2 separate regions of the Homo sapiens genome follow, and region 2 is linked to region 1. The links are contacts of gene promoters, found by promoter capture Hi-C in blood cells and fetal thymus (Javierre and others, 2016). All regions are on one chromosome and are shown on one strand. The core of a region is centred on a gene start or on the middle of the fragment in contact, and the rest is flanking DNA. Distances in the headings are between cores, read along the strand shown.

The links. The method cuts DNA at HindIII sites, captures the fragments that hold promoters and counts their contacts. A CHiCAGO score of 5 or more calls a contact.
Region 2: a contact is called between a fragment that was not itself captured here and the fragment with the promoter of H2AC20 in region 1, in 8 of 17 cell types (erythroblasts, M0 macrophages, total B cells and 5 more). The highest score is 9.2, in erythroblasts.

The regions. Positions count from the first base shown.
Region 1 is chr1:149,883,406-149,889,757 of GRCh38, reverse strand. It overlaps H2AC20 (H2A clustered histone 20), which reads right to left and starts at 2,840. Exons shown (of 1, transcript NM_003517.3): 1 at 2,347-2,840. The coding sequence starts at 2,783. The coding sequence ends at 2,394. It overlaps H2BC21 (H2B clustered histone 21), which reads left to right and starts at 3,076. Exons shown (of 1, transcript NM_003528.3): 1 at 3,076-5,299. The coding sequence starts at 3,118. The coding sequence ends at 3,498. H2AC21 (H2A clustered histone 21) reads left to right here and starts at 1,793. Exons shown (of 1, transcript NM_175065.3): 1 at 1,793-2,289. The coding sequence starts at 1,842. The coding sequence ends at 2,234. RefSeq lists enhancers at 1,723-2,012, 2,033-2,172, 2,583-2,642, 2,773-2,842, 3,163-3,452 and 6 more. The HindIII fragment of the contact is 4,135 bases long and covers 1-2,873 here.
Region 2 is chr1:150,174,601-150,180,952 of GRCh38, reverse strand. LINC02988 (long intergenic non-protein coding RNA 2988) reads right to left here. Exons shown (of 4, transcript NR_135098.1): 4 at 1-41. Among named protein-coding and RNA genes, the nearest start is that of LINC02988, 17 kb to the right of the region's middle. The HindIII fragment of the contact is 2,299 bases long and covers 1,852-4,150 here.

The DNA of each region.
Region 1 (6,352 bases), core at 1,591-4,090:
GAAAAGTGTCAAAGAATGATTTAAGTATTTTCTGGCCGGGTGCAGTGGCTCACGCCTGTAATCCCAGCACTTTGGGAGGTCGAGGTGGGCAGATCATTTGAGGTCAGGAATTCGAGACCACCTTGGCCAACATTCGAGATTTGAGGTCAGGAGTTCGAGATCACCCTGGTCAACATTAGTAGAGATGAAACCCCATCTCTACTAAAAATACAAAAATTAGCCAGGCGGGGTGGTGGGCGCCTGTCATCCCAGCTACTCGGGAGGCTGAGGTGGGAGGATCGCTTGAACCCGGGTGGGTGGGGGCGGGGTGGAGGAGGCGGTGGTGGAGGTTGCAGTGAGCTGAGATAGTGCTCCAGCCTGGGTGACAGAGGAAATTCCGCCTCAAAAAACGAACAAAAAACCCACAAGTCTATTTTTTCTCTCTAGCATTCTACCTGACCTTAAGGGATACTAAGGAAAGGGTGAGAATGGTGTAGGAGATGTAGAACTCCCAGAGATGGGACGTTGAGGAGGAAGAAACACAAGAGCTTTCAGGTTCATCTGTTATATGGGATAAAAGAAAAAAAGGAGAGCTTTCAGGAAAGATTTCTAAGACCGCTGGAGTCATGCCAGCGATTAGTGCCTGACGGCAAAATTACCCTTTCCCGGCTGTTGCTGAAATCTAAGGGATGATGATGAGGTGGACAAGGGAGCATGGAGAAAAAGTCTGAAGGGATGTTAAGGAAGCAACTGACTGGATATGCTAAGACGAAGGGAAGAGTAGAGTAGATTTCGGCTTAGGTATCTGTAAGTATGCTGGTGCATTTCAGGAAAAGAGGGCAAAGAGGGGAGGTTGTTTGTATGAGTTCGCGTTCGGATAGGCTGAGGTAGAGTTTGAGTTTGAGGTGCTCGTTGGGATAAGTAGGTTGAAGTATTCTGTAAGCAGTTAGGCATAAGGGTCTGAGCTTCTGAAACAAATTTGGACGTTAGTTGAAAGCATATAAATGGGTAAGACTCTTCGGGATAAGTGAAGAATTGGAGACAGGGAAACAGTCCAGCTGGACTCGCAGATTTAGAGATGGGCAGTGGCATGGGGGAGCAGGATAAGAAAAGTCGGCGAGGTAAGAAGAAAAACAGGGCGACATTTTGAAAGCCAAGGGAGCAAGTTTGAAGGCCGCCTCCTGGAGGTCAAGAGGAGGATGACAAATCTATTCTAGCCTCGGTCAAACCGGATTCCGAGGAGTGCAGGCGGGTGGGGGTGGGGCGGAGACACGCCGCTGCGGGCGACTTAAGTTTAGGGGCGAGAAAGGAGGCAGCCTTAGTAGTACATGTATTTTTAAAGGGAATTTGGCTGTGACGAGACAGAAAGGGCGGGACTTGGCAGTTTAGAGCTCAAGGGGATCATCGGCTTCAGAATCCCCTACTCTTTCGTGAGAGTAACTCTCCGTCTAAGGATGTCTTCTGCAGTTCCTTAGGGTCCATATTGGGATTTCCCGGCTGTAAACTAAACAAAGCAAAGCAAAACAAAACAAAAACCCACAGTGCCTCTCAGTAAAACAAAACCAGTATTTTGTTTGAAAGCCTGCTCTCTTTAAAGATCCTGGCATGCAAATAAGGGGCTTTAATGTGGCTCTCAGCGATTGGTAGATACTTACAAAATCCGTCATTTCCTTTCAGTGCAGGACGCAAACCAAGAGGCGGCTTTCTGCTTTTCTATTGGCTGTTAGATACGGCTCCGCTTTTAGCCAATCAAACGACTTCCCTTCACCCCTCCCGGTAGCTCTTATAAATTACATCAAATTGGTTATTCTTTCCACATTCTTCTCCTTGTAAAAGAAGCTGTAACTGCAATTTTAGCCGTAATGTCAGGACGCGGAAAGCAGGGAGGCAAGGCCCGCGCTAAGGCCAAGTCGCGCTCGTCCCGCGCTGGTCTCCAGTTCCCGGTGGGGCGAGTGCACCGCTTGCTGCGCAAAGGCAACTACGCGGAGCGGGTCGGGGCAGGCGCCCCGGTGTACCTGGCGGCGGTCCTCGAGTACCTGACCGCGGAAATTCTGGAGCTGGCGGGCAACGCGGCTCGGGACAACAAGAAGACGCGCATCATCCCTCGCCATCTGCAACTAGCCGTGAGGAATGACGAAGAGCTCAACAAGTTACTCGGGGGTGTCACCATTGCCCAGGGCGGCGTCTTGCCCAATATCCAGGCTGTCCTGTTGCCCAAGAAAACGGAGAGTCACAAGCCTGGCAAGAACAAGTAATTAAGAGGCTTGACACCATACTCATTCACCCCAAAGGCTCTTTTAAGAGCCACCAAAGTGTCAAATGAAGGGCTGATCACGAAATAGCGCATTAGCTCTTTTTTTGAAAACTTGGGTGGCTCTAAAAAGAGCCTTTGGTCTTGGTTTGTTTGTCTGCATTTATTTGCTTTTGGCTTTGTGGCTTTCGGTTTTCTTTGGTAACAGAACGGCCTGGATGTTAGGCAAAACGCCGCCCTGGGCGATGGTGACTTTGCCCAGCAGCTTGTTCAGTTCCTCGTCGTTGCGGATGGCCAGCTGGAGGTGACGAGGGATGATGCGCGTCTTCTTGTTGTCCCGAGCCGCGTTGCCCGCCAGCTCCAGGATCTCGGCGGTCAGGTACTCGAGGACCGCCGCCATGTAGACGGGCGCGCCGGCCCCCACCCGCTCCGCGTAGTTGCCTTTGCGCAGCAAGCGGTGCACTCGCCCTACCGGGAACTGGAGGCCAGCGCGGGACGAGCGCGACTTGGCCTTGGCGCGGGCCTTGCCTCCTTGTTTGCCACGACCAGACATGACTGAAATCAAGGTTAAACACAGACAACGCTCAGAACCTCGCAACAAAATAAGATTGAAAGAGAACCAAGAGGAAAGCCTTTATAAGCTTTCCTAGGGGTGGGGTCAAGAACGAGTTTTTCATTGGTCCTAATATGGCTTCAGAACCGGCCAATCAAGTCAAGAGTCGGTGTTGTTACGTACGCATTGCTGAAAACGCAAGGTCCGCACACGGACCAATGGAAATGAACGACTTTCGGAGCCCTAATTTGCATAAGGTGGTTATAAAAGAATCAGGCCCGCCCATTCTCTTACTTCTTTTCTTGGCTAAGCCGCGTTTGTACTGTGTCTTACCATGCCTGAACCGGCAAAATCCGCTCCGGCCCCTAAAAAGGGCTCCAAGAAAGCCGTCACCAAAGCCCAGAAGAAAGACGGCAAGAAGCGCAAGCGCAGCCGCAAAGAGAGCTACTCCATCTACGTGTACAAGGTGCTGAAGCAGGTCCACCCCGACACCGGCATCTCGTCCAAGGCCATGGGCATCATGAACTCCTTCGTCAACGACATCTTCGAGCGCATCGCGGGAGAGGCTTCCCGCCTGGCGCACTACAACAAGCGCTCCACCATCACATCCCGCGAGATCCAGACGGCCGTGCGCCTGCTGCTGCCCGGCGAGCTGGCCAAGCACGCCGTGTCCGAGGGCACCAAGGCGGTCACCAAGTACACCAGCTCCAAGTGAGTCCCTGCCGGGACCTGGCGCTCGCTCGCTCGAGTCGCCGGCTGCTTGACTCCAAAGGCTCTTTTCAGAGCCACCCACCTAATCACTAGAAAAGAGCTTGTTCACTTATTCCCTTAGTTTCTTTTCATAAAGTAAGTTATTTTAGTGTGAAGGTCATGGGAAATGGCATACGTAGCTTTTTAACTATTTGGAACTCGAGGTCCCCAGTGCGTCATTGGATTTGCTTTTGAATCTAGAGCGTGTCTTTACTCATTGTGCTGCTTAGCCTTCCCAGGAGTCGGTTCTCAATTAGGCTGTTGGGAATCCGCCTCTTTACCCGCCCCCACTCCCGCCCCACACGCGCCCTGGTGGCTCCTTGGGTCTGTTTCATTCTAAAACGAAGTGGCTGAGTTCGGCTGTCATTTAAGAGAACTCCAGGACACAATTCAGCCCGGGTTCCGCAAACACTGCGTGACAGCTCTGTATGACTGACGCTTGGCAGCAGCTTTTGTGTCCGGTCACCAGTTCTGCCGTGCGATGGGGCCTCCTGTGGATACCAGCCGTTCTGTGTATTTTGGACGAAGGCCGCGCAGCCGGGTCCCAGCCTTGTCCTGATTGGGCGACAAGAATATTCAAAATTCTGCGCCTTTTTCTAATTTGTAGATTTCAGTTTCCGTCGTTCACTTTGAGACTTTGAAATTCCTATTTCTCATTTTGTTGATAATTTCTGCATTTAATGGTCTGTGCTTTAAATGGTAACGCTACGGCCCCAGGTCACTGCGAGGCACTTACCATGTAGATACGGGCTCAAAAGTCACCTCTCAGAGACCTACGTCATCCACTCAGGAATTCGCGCCTCTCATACTTGCCTGTCTCATTTTATCTTCCTTCTAGCAGCTGTCTGAAATTGGTTCGTCTGTTTTCTTGTTTATGGTATTCTCAAGCCCTTGACAGACCGGCTAGTGTGGTTTTCCCGTGCATCTTCAGCCTGGCACATTATGGACACTTAAATACTACGTATTGATCTAATATTGTTGGGTTAATTTTTCCATCCCACCCTTTTCTTAATCGCTTCCGTGGATGGATGAAGGGTGCTGTTCATTTCCATTAGATGTATGTGAAGGCACAGTGAAAATGGAAATGTTCTTGGAGCTACTTCCTCAAAATGTATCCTTAGTCACCTCAGTGCAACAGCTGGGAGGGGGCCGTGTTAAGATTTTTTTTGCTACAAAGAGGAGGTGGCAATGGTAGATCCACCCTTATGCTTCTCAGTTTAGCATAACCTCTTATGGATTTTCATCAAATTCAGCGTGTTGGTCACTGGAAAGAGCCTTTTCCTTCTCCTTTTCTTACTCTCCCCTCATGGTGTTCCCCTCTTAAAGGAGAGGAGCTTTTAATTTACACTTACCACCTCATTTGCTTTTCTGGAGGCCATGCAATATAGGCGGGACTACAGAGTTAATCTCCTTTTTACAAATGAGGCCAAGAGAAGCCTCATTGGTTCACAGTCATGCAGCTCATACTGTCCACCCTTGTATTCTCAGATGCAGGACAATTGCATTTTAGTTTTATTTTGTGGAGGTGCAGAATATTTACTCTTTCTGTCCAACCCTTGATTCTGCCGAGGAAGACACTGATGGTTTGATGAGTGATTCAGCTGTTTTTGGCTAAGGGCTTTTGGAGCTGATGGCAGGGGTTTGATGAATCCAAATGAGCTCTAGACATTATCACAGACTGAATAGATCTTAACTGTCTCCTACATGTGTGTTTTCAAATGTGTATAGATGCTATTGTTATTAATAAAGTTACCAATTAATTTAAAGGCTTTGCTGGATTCTTTTATCTACAGTGTATTTTCTCAATGAATGAAATTAACAGATACAACTTCCACTGTGTCTGTAGAAAAGCGTGGGTGCCTCTGATCTGGGGGATGACTATTTATAAGCCACCAGCCAAACTGCTGCCCCAAAGGTGCACTGGGGCTGAAATAGTCTGTTACAAGGCCACTGTTAATGCTTAGTAATTGAAAAATATATGATCACAAATAGACAGCAGTACAAATAAGATGGAAGAAATAAAGTTCATAATAAAGTTAAGCTAACACCTACGGAGCACTTACTACGTGCCAGGTAGTGTCCTAGGCCCTTTATATGTATTGACTCATCTAATTCTCACTGGGACCTCAGGAAGTAGTACCGTTATTATCACCCATTTTACAGATAAGGAAACTGAGGCAAAGAGAAGCCTTTCTTCAGAAACTCTCCAGAGAATAAGCTCCTAGGTTAGCAGTTAAGGGACTTGAGAAACAGGGTCATTCTGAAAACCTGGACCCTTCCTGTGTTTTAGGGGGAAATATCTATGCTTTAGAATTGAAAAGAAATACCACTGGCTTTATTCTCTTCAGAGTGCACCCTGGATATAAATCCTGGGTGGTGGTGGCTGAGTACATTGAGGGTGGGATTAGGTGGCTGTGATCCTTCATCCCAGAGGCCATAGCTCAACTCAATTGAGTTTGTCCCCACAGTGGTGGGGCTCACCAGCTGGAATCCTTTCACTAACATGAGAGAGCCTTAGTTGCTGGTTTTGGGCTCCACCTGGGGATGATGTTCACTGGGAAGGATGTTATAGAGTGAGGAAGGGGGGGAAGAGGTGATAGATTTTGATATTTTAACTCTGGAGGGGAAGTAATTGGTGAGATTAATCCTCAAGAACCTCTTTGATCGTTTCTCCTGCTCAGACATCTTTAAACATTTGCTTATGTTGGGGTTAATAACAATAATTGTTAAAATAATGATTGCTTCCCCTTACTAAGCACTTAACTGTTTACCTTAAACTTACTTAGCAGTAAGCTAAGAGTTTACCTTACACTTACTTA
Region 2 (6,352 bases), core at 1,752-4,251, 290 kb before region 1:
CAGGCGTGTTCAGGGAGTGCCCCTGCTGAGCATCCTGCAGACTGATAGGGAGAGAGACATATTGTGTAGAGACCACTTTCTCCCCAAGCAAAACCAAAGCAAGGTGGGGTGGAGGACCCAGGGTGGGAGGGGAAGTGGAGTCCAAGTGATTTACAGGTTTTCATTACACATTTGAGGATGAACCTAGGTCGCTAGAACTTTGACTCAATGACAGAAGGGGCCTTTGTGGAGGTCTTGATGTAAAAAACACGAGTCACCTCTCAGAACTTCTGCATAGCTGCTAGAAGTTAGTTCTCAACCTTAAAGTTCCTTCTTTTTCTAGAGGATCGCTGAAAGCAAAAGTAACAATCTAAACCATCTGCCACTTAAATAAGAGGAGATTTATTGCTTTTAATAGAAAGGATGCTTGTTCCAACAGAAGGGTATGGCTCAGAGAAGCAAGCCTGGCTGGGCACGGTGGCTCACGCCTCTAATCCCAGGACTTTGGGAGGCGGAGGTGCGTGGATCACCTGAGGCCAGGAGTTCGAGACCAGCCTGACCAACATGGCGAAACCCCATCTCTACAAAAAAAGACAAAAAATAATTAGCCGGGTGTGATGGTACACCTGTATAGTTCCAGCTACCTGGGAGGCTGAGGTACGAGAATTGCTTGAACCTGGGAGGTGGAGGTTACAGTGAGCCGAGATCGCACCACTGCACTCCAGCCCGGGCAACAGAATGAGACTGTCTCAAAAAAAAAAAAGAGGCAGCTGCGGCTTCATCTCTTTGGCCTTCCTGAGCATATATTCTGGTCACTGCTCTGCCGTCAAGCTGTGGAGTAGGGGGGATCCCTAAAGAGCAAACAGCAGGTATGAGTGTTAGAGACCAGAGACAGCAATGCTGATTCAGCGCATAAAGTTCACCAATGTGCAGTGTGGCTGGAGTTTAGAGCATGGGGCAGCCCTGAGGTGTCTATAAGGGGAATGGAGAGGAAGGACAAGGCCAAAGAAAGAAGCGACTAGGATCACAGAGGCCCTGTAAACCGTGTTAAAGAAGGTGGACTCTAACTCAAGGGCAGTGGGGACTATAAATATCAGATTTAAAATTTTAATTTTTTTTTTTTTGATATGGAGTCTTGCTCTTGTTGCCCAGGCTGGAGTGCTATGGCATGATCTGGGTTCACTGCAACCTCTGCCTCCCAGGTTCAAGCAATTCTCCTGCTTCAGCCTCCCGAGTAGCTGGGATTACAGGTGCCTACCACCATGCCTGGCTAATTTTTTCTTTTTCTTTTTTTTTCCGTATTTTTAATAGAGACAGGGTTTCATCATGTTGGCCAGGCTGGTCTCAAACTCCTGACCTCAGGTGATATGCCCGCCTCGGCTTCCTAAAGTGTTGGGATTACAGGCGTGAGCCACTGCGCCAAGCCAGATTTAAAATTTTAGATCACTCTAATTGCAGTGTGGGCATAAGAAACAGTAGAGTTAGTGACACTAATTAGAAGACTGTTGCAGTCGTTGGAGAGAGAGGGGTTGATGGCCTGAAACTGTAGAGGCAAAACCATGAGTAGCAATGTTGGCACTCAGGGCAAACAACTCAAAATTGACCTTCAAACAGCTCTGTAATGCAGGATACAGCCAGGTGTGACTGGTAATATGCCTTTTGATAGTTTTCAATTTAACCAAATGGTCTGGATAACCAGGTGTTTTTTTTTTTTAAACAATTATGTTTTAAAGGAAACATGCCCCTTGAGATTATGGAATTCAGGAGCAAAGCACAGTCCACTCCTGTAGTTGGGCTGGGGCAGAGGCAGTGGGAAGGGGGTGGTAATCAGATTTGGGAGATACTTAGGAAGTAGGGTGGACAAGTAAAGCTTTTGGTAGAAAAACATGTTTAGTTAAAGTTGTTTTTGTTTTGTTTGAATTGAATTAGTAATATATGCCATGGTAAAATTCAAACAGCACTAAAGGAATACAATGAAAAGTGTCTCCTTAACCAGAGTCAGCCATTCTTAACAGTTCTTGTGTATTCTAGAGCTTTTTGTGCCACTGTAAGCCTATGTTTAATATTTATTTTTTATAAAAATTGGAACATACTATACACCTTGCTCTTCCCTTTACTAATTCACTTAACATTATATTTTGGCAGTCTTGCTATATCTATTTTTGGTTTGTTTCTAAAGAGACAGGGCCTTGGTCTATTGCTCAGGCTGGATTGCAGTGGTGCAATCATAGCTCACTGTAACCCCAGACTTCCTCCTGCTCCTGCCTCCAAGTAGCTATAACTACAGGAGTGTGCCACCATGCCCATCTAATTTTTAAATTTTTTATAGAGATGGGCTCTCCCTATGTTGCCCAGGCTGGTCTCAAACCCTGGCCTCAAGTGATCCTCCTGCATTGGCCTCCCAGAGCACTGGGATTACAGGTGTGAGCCACCATGTCCTGTCTACTTTGTTCTTTTAATAGTCCATTGTTTGAATGTGTGCTCTCATTATTTATTTAAACTAGTCTCCTTTTTTTTTTTTTTTTTTTTGAGACAGGGTCTCGCTGTATTTCTCAGGCTGGAGTGCAGTGGCGTGATCTCGGCTCACTGCAACCTCTGCCTCCTGAGGTCAAAGTATCCTCCCACTTCAGCCTCCTGATTAGCTGAGACTACAGGTGTGTGCCAACACACCCAGCTAATCTTTGTATTTCTTTTTAGAGTCGGAGTTTCACCCTGTTGCTCAGGCTGGTTTCAAACTCCTGGGCTCAAGCGATCCACCTGTCTCAGCCTCCCAAAGTGCTAGGATTACAGGTGTGAGTCCAGCCAAATTGGTCTCCAAATTGATGTACATTGGGGCTGTTTCTAATTTTTGATATTTGAGTTAGATTTTTTAAAATTAGCTTTTAAATAAGGGAAGAGACACAAAATAATGAAGGAAGAATTCTAGGTGGTGAAAAAGATTTATACATAAATAGGGACCACTAGTGTCTTTGTGTCTGACGGACTACTCTTGACTCGCCTAGGCCATAGGATGAACATATTTATGAGGAGGGAGGTGGGAGAGTAGTGGGTGTTTCTGCAAACCCTTGAGTCTATGTGTAGAATTGGGATGTGACTTAAGAACTGGGCATTTCTAACAGGGTCAGAGTGAAGCTGGCTATAGCCACTTCTTCTCCAATTAAAGATCTTTCAGGGGAGCAGGCTGCCACAGCTGTGAACATTGATCATACTCCGCTCCAGTAAAAATGCCTTCCTGCCCGTGCACAGACGTCACCCTGTTGTATCCTAAATCCACCTGTTGTCATAGTTGTTTCTCTGGGAACCCCAGCCATAGTAAGAAATATGAAGTACTGGCCGGGCGCGGTGGCTTATGCCTGTAATCCCAGAATGTTGGGAGGCCGAGGCAGGTGGATCACAAGGTCAGGAGTTTGAGACCAGCCTGGCCAACTTGGTGAAACGCTGTCTCTACTAAAAATACAAAAATTAGCCGGGCACGGTGGCATGCACCTATAAACCCAGCTACTTGGGAGGCTGAGGCAGGAGAATTGCTGGAACCAGGGAGGTGGAGGTTACAGTGAACTGAGATTGTGCCACTACACTCCAGCCTGGGTGACAGAGTGAGACTCCGTCTAACAAAAAAAAAAAAAAAAAGAGAAAAGAAGTATTTGTGAAAGAAAATGTTTGCTGGCTTGGGTAGAAAGTTGTGTCAGGGAGGAATGAGAAATGGGCCATTTGTTTAAGGCCACCCCCGACTAGCTCTTCCTTTTCTTTTTTTTTTTTTTTTTTTTTTTTGAGACGGAGTTTCATTCTTGTTGCCCAGGCTGGAGTGCAACGGTCTGATCTCGGCTCACAGCAACCACTGCCTCCTGGGTTCAAATGATTCTCCTGCCTCAGCCTCCCGAGTTACAGGCATGCAACACCACGCCCAGATAATTTTTTCTTTTTTTGTATTTTTAGTAGAGATGGGGTTTCTCCATGTTGGTCAGGCTGGTCTCAAGCTCCTGACTTCAGGTGATCCACCTGCCTCAGCCTCCCAAAGTGTTGGGATTACAGGTGTGAGCCACGCGCCCGGCCAGCTCTTCCTTTTCATGTAAGCATGCTCTTAACTTTTCTGCTGGAGTTGGAGAAATTTGTTTTGATGCAGCCATCTGCCAGTTGCATAATCTTGGGTATGTTTCAACATCTCCAAGCTTCAGTTCCCCATCAGTCAAATGGGCATCATAATTCCCACTTGGCACAGTGTTGGGAAGATTTATTGAGCCAATGTATGTGAAAGGGCCTATGTTTCATTTTACTTTTTTGCAAGGCCTTGTCACAATGGAGTTCCTAAGGCAATGTGTAATCCAACCCAAGATAATAGATACCAAAATGTTCTATTCTTTCCTGGGATGTGACTGCCAATGTTAGCCTCCCATACTCTCAGCCTGTGTGCTTTACTGAAACTGTCTCTGAAAGCTCATCACCTTCAGGTAATTCATACAAGATTTTTTTACATTTGTATAGTACTTTATAGCTGTCACAGAGACCTTAGCAACAATCATCTAATTTGAACCCCCTAGCAAACCTTCTGGGGCAAGGCACATTTTATCACCATGTTACATATAACATAAACGAGGCTCAGAGAGAATGATATAAAGAAACTGAGGGCCGGGCACAGTGGCTCACACCTGTAATCCCAGCATTTTGGGAGGCCAAGGTGGGAGGATCACTTGAGGTCAGGAGTTCAAGACCATCCTGGCCAACATGGTGAAACCCCGTCTCTACCAAAAATATGAAAGTTAGTCAGGTGTGGTGGCACACGCATGTAATCCCAGCTACTCATGAGGCTGAGGCATGAGAATTCCTTGAGCCCAGGAGGCGGAGACTGCAGTGAGCTGAGATCGCACCACTGCACTCCAGCCTGGGCGAGAGTGAGACCTTGTCTCAAAAAAAAAAAAAGATCCAGGTGCCATGTCTCATGTCTGTAATCCCAGCACTTTGGGAGGCTGAGATGGGTGGATCACCTGAGGTCAGAAGTTCGAGAGCAGCCTGGCCAACATGGTGAAACCCCGTCTCTAGTAAAAATACAAAAATTAGCCGGGCATGGTGGCAGGTGCCTGTAATCCCAGCTACTCAGGAGGCTGAGGCAGAAAAATCGCTTCAACCTAGGAGGTGGAGGTTGCAGTGAGCCGAGATCGTGCCATTGCACTCTGGCCTGGGCAACGGAGTAAGACTCTTGTCTACAAAAAAAAAAAAAGAAAAAAAAAGAAACTGAAGCTCAAAGAAGACAAATAATAAACAGCAGAGACCAGGAGTAGATTACTTCTAGACTACTTCAAGACTAAAGAGATGAGAGGTACCTTCCCTGACCTCAATCTGCCTAGGTTTAGAATTCTTGAGTCTGTTTCCCCAATCATGTTTTGCATCCTAGTAAAATGCATGCCACTTCTAAAATAATTTTTCTGTTGAAATAATAACATCAGCAGGCCGGGCGCGGTGGGTCACACCTGTAATCTCAGCACTTTGGGAGGCCGAGGTAGGTGGATCACCTGAGGCCAGGAGTTCGAGGCCAGTCTGGACAACATGGCGAAACCCTGTCTCTACTAAAAACACACAAATTAGCTGGGTATGGTGGTGGGTGCCTGTAGTTCCAGCTACTTGGGAGGCTGAGGCAGGATAATCATTTCAGCCTGGGAGGCAGAGGTTGCAGTGAGCTGAGATGGCACCACGGCACTCCAGCCTGGGTGACAGAGTGAGACTCCGTCTCAAAACAGCAACAACAAAAAGAAATAATAACATCAGCAAAATACTTCATCGTTTGTAAAACACCTTAAAATTGATGGATTCATTTGATTCTTACAGTAGCCTCCTGGGTAAGTAGAGCAAACATGAGTTATTCTGTTTTTCAGATGAGGAAATAGATGTGAGAATTGAGACCTGCCCAATGTCAAACAACCAAGGAGCAGAGCTGGAACGGGAAACTGACTTTCTGGGCAGCAACTTCAATGCCTTCTTATAGGTTCATTATTGTTGTTATACTTTTATTATGCTTCTATTGTGCTGTGTAATTTTTTTTTTTTTTGAGATGGAGTCTCGCTGTCGCCCAGGCTGGAGTGCAGTGCCACGATCTCGGCTCACTGCAGGCTCTGTCCCCCGGGGTTTACGCCATTCTCCTGCCTCAGCCTCCCGAGTAGCTGGGACTACAGGTGCCCGCCACCTCTCCCGGCTAATTTTTTGTATTTTTAGTAGAGACAGGGTTTCACCGTGTTAGCCAGGATGGTCTCGATCTCCTGACCTCGTGATCCGCCCACCTCGGGTAATTTTTTTTAAAAATTCAAATTAGTTAACCTCTTGTAGACATTCATTAAAATACATTTGTTGAGCACCTGTGTAAACTGCTCACCATCTAGTTGGG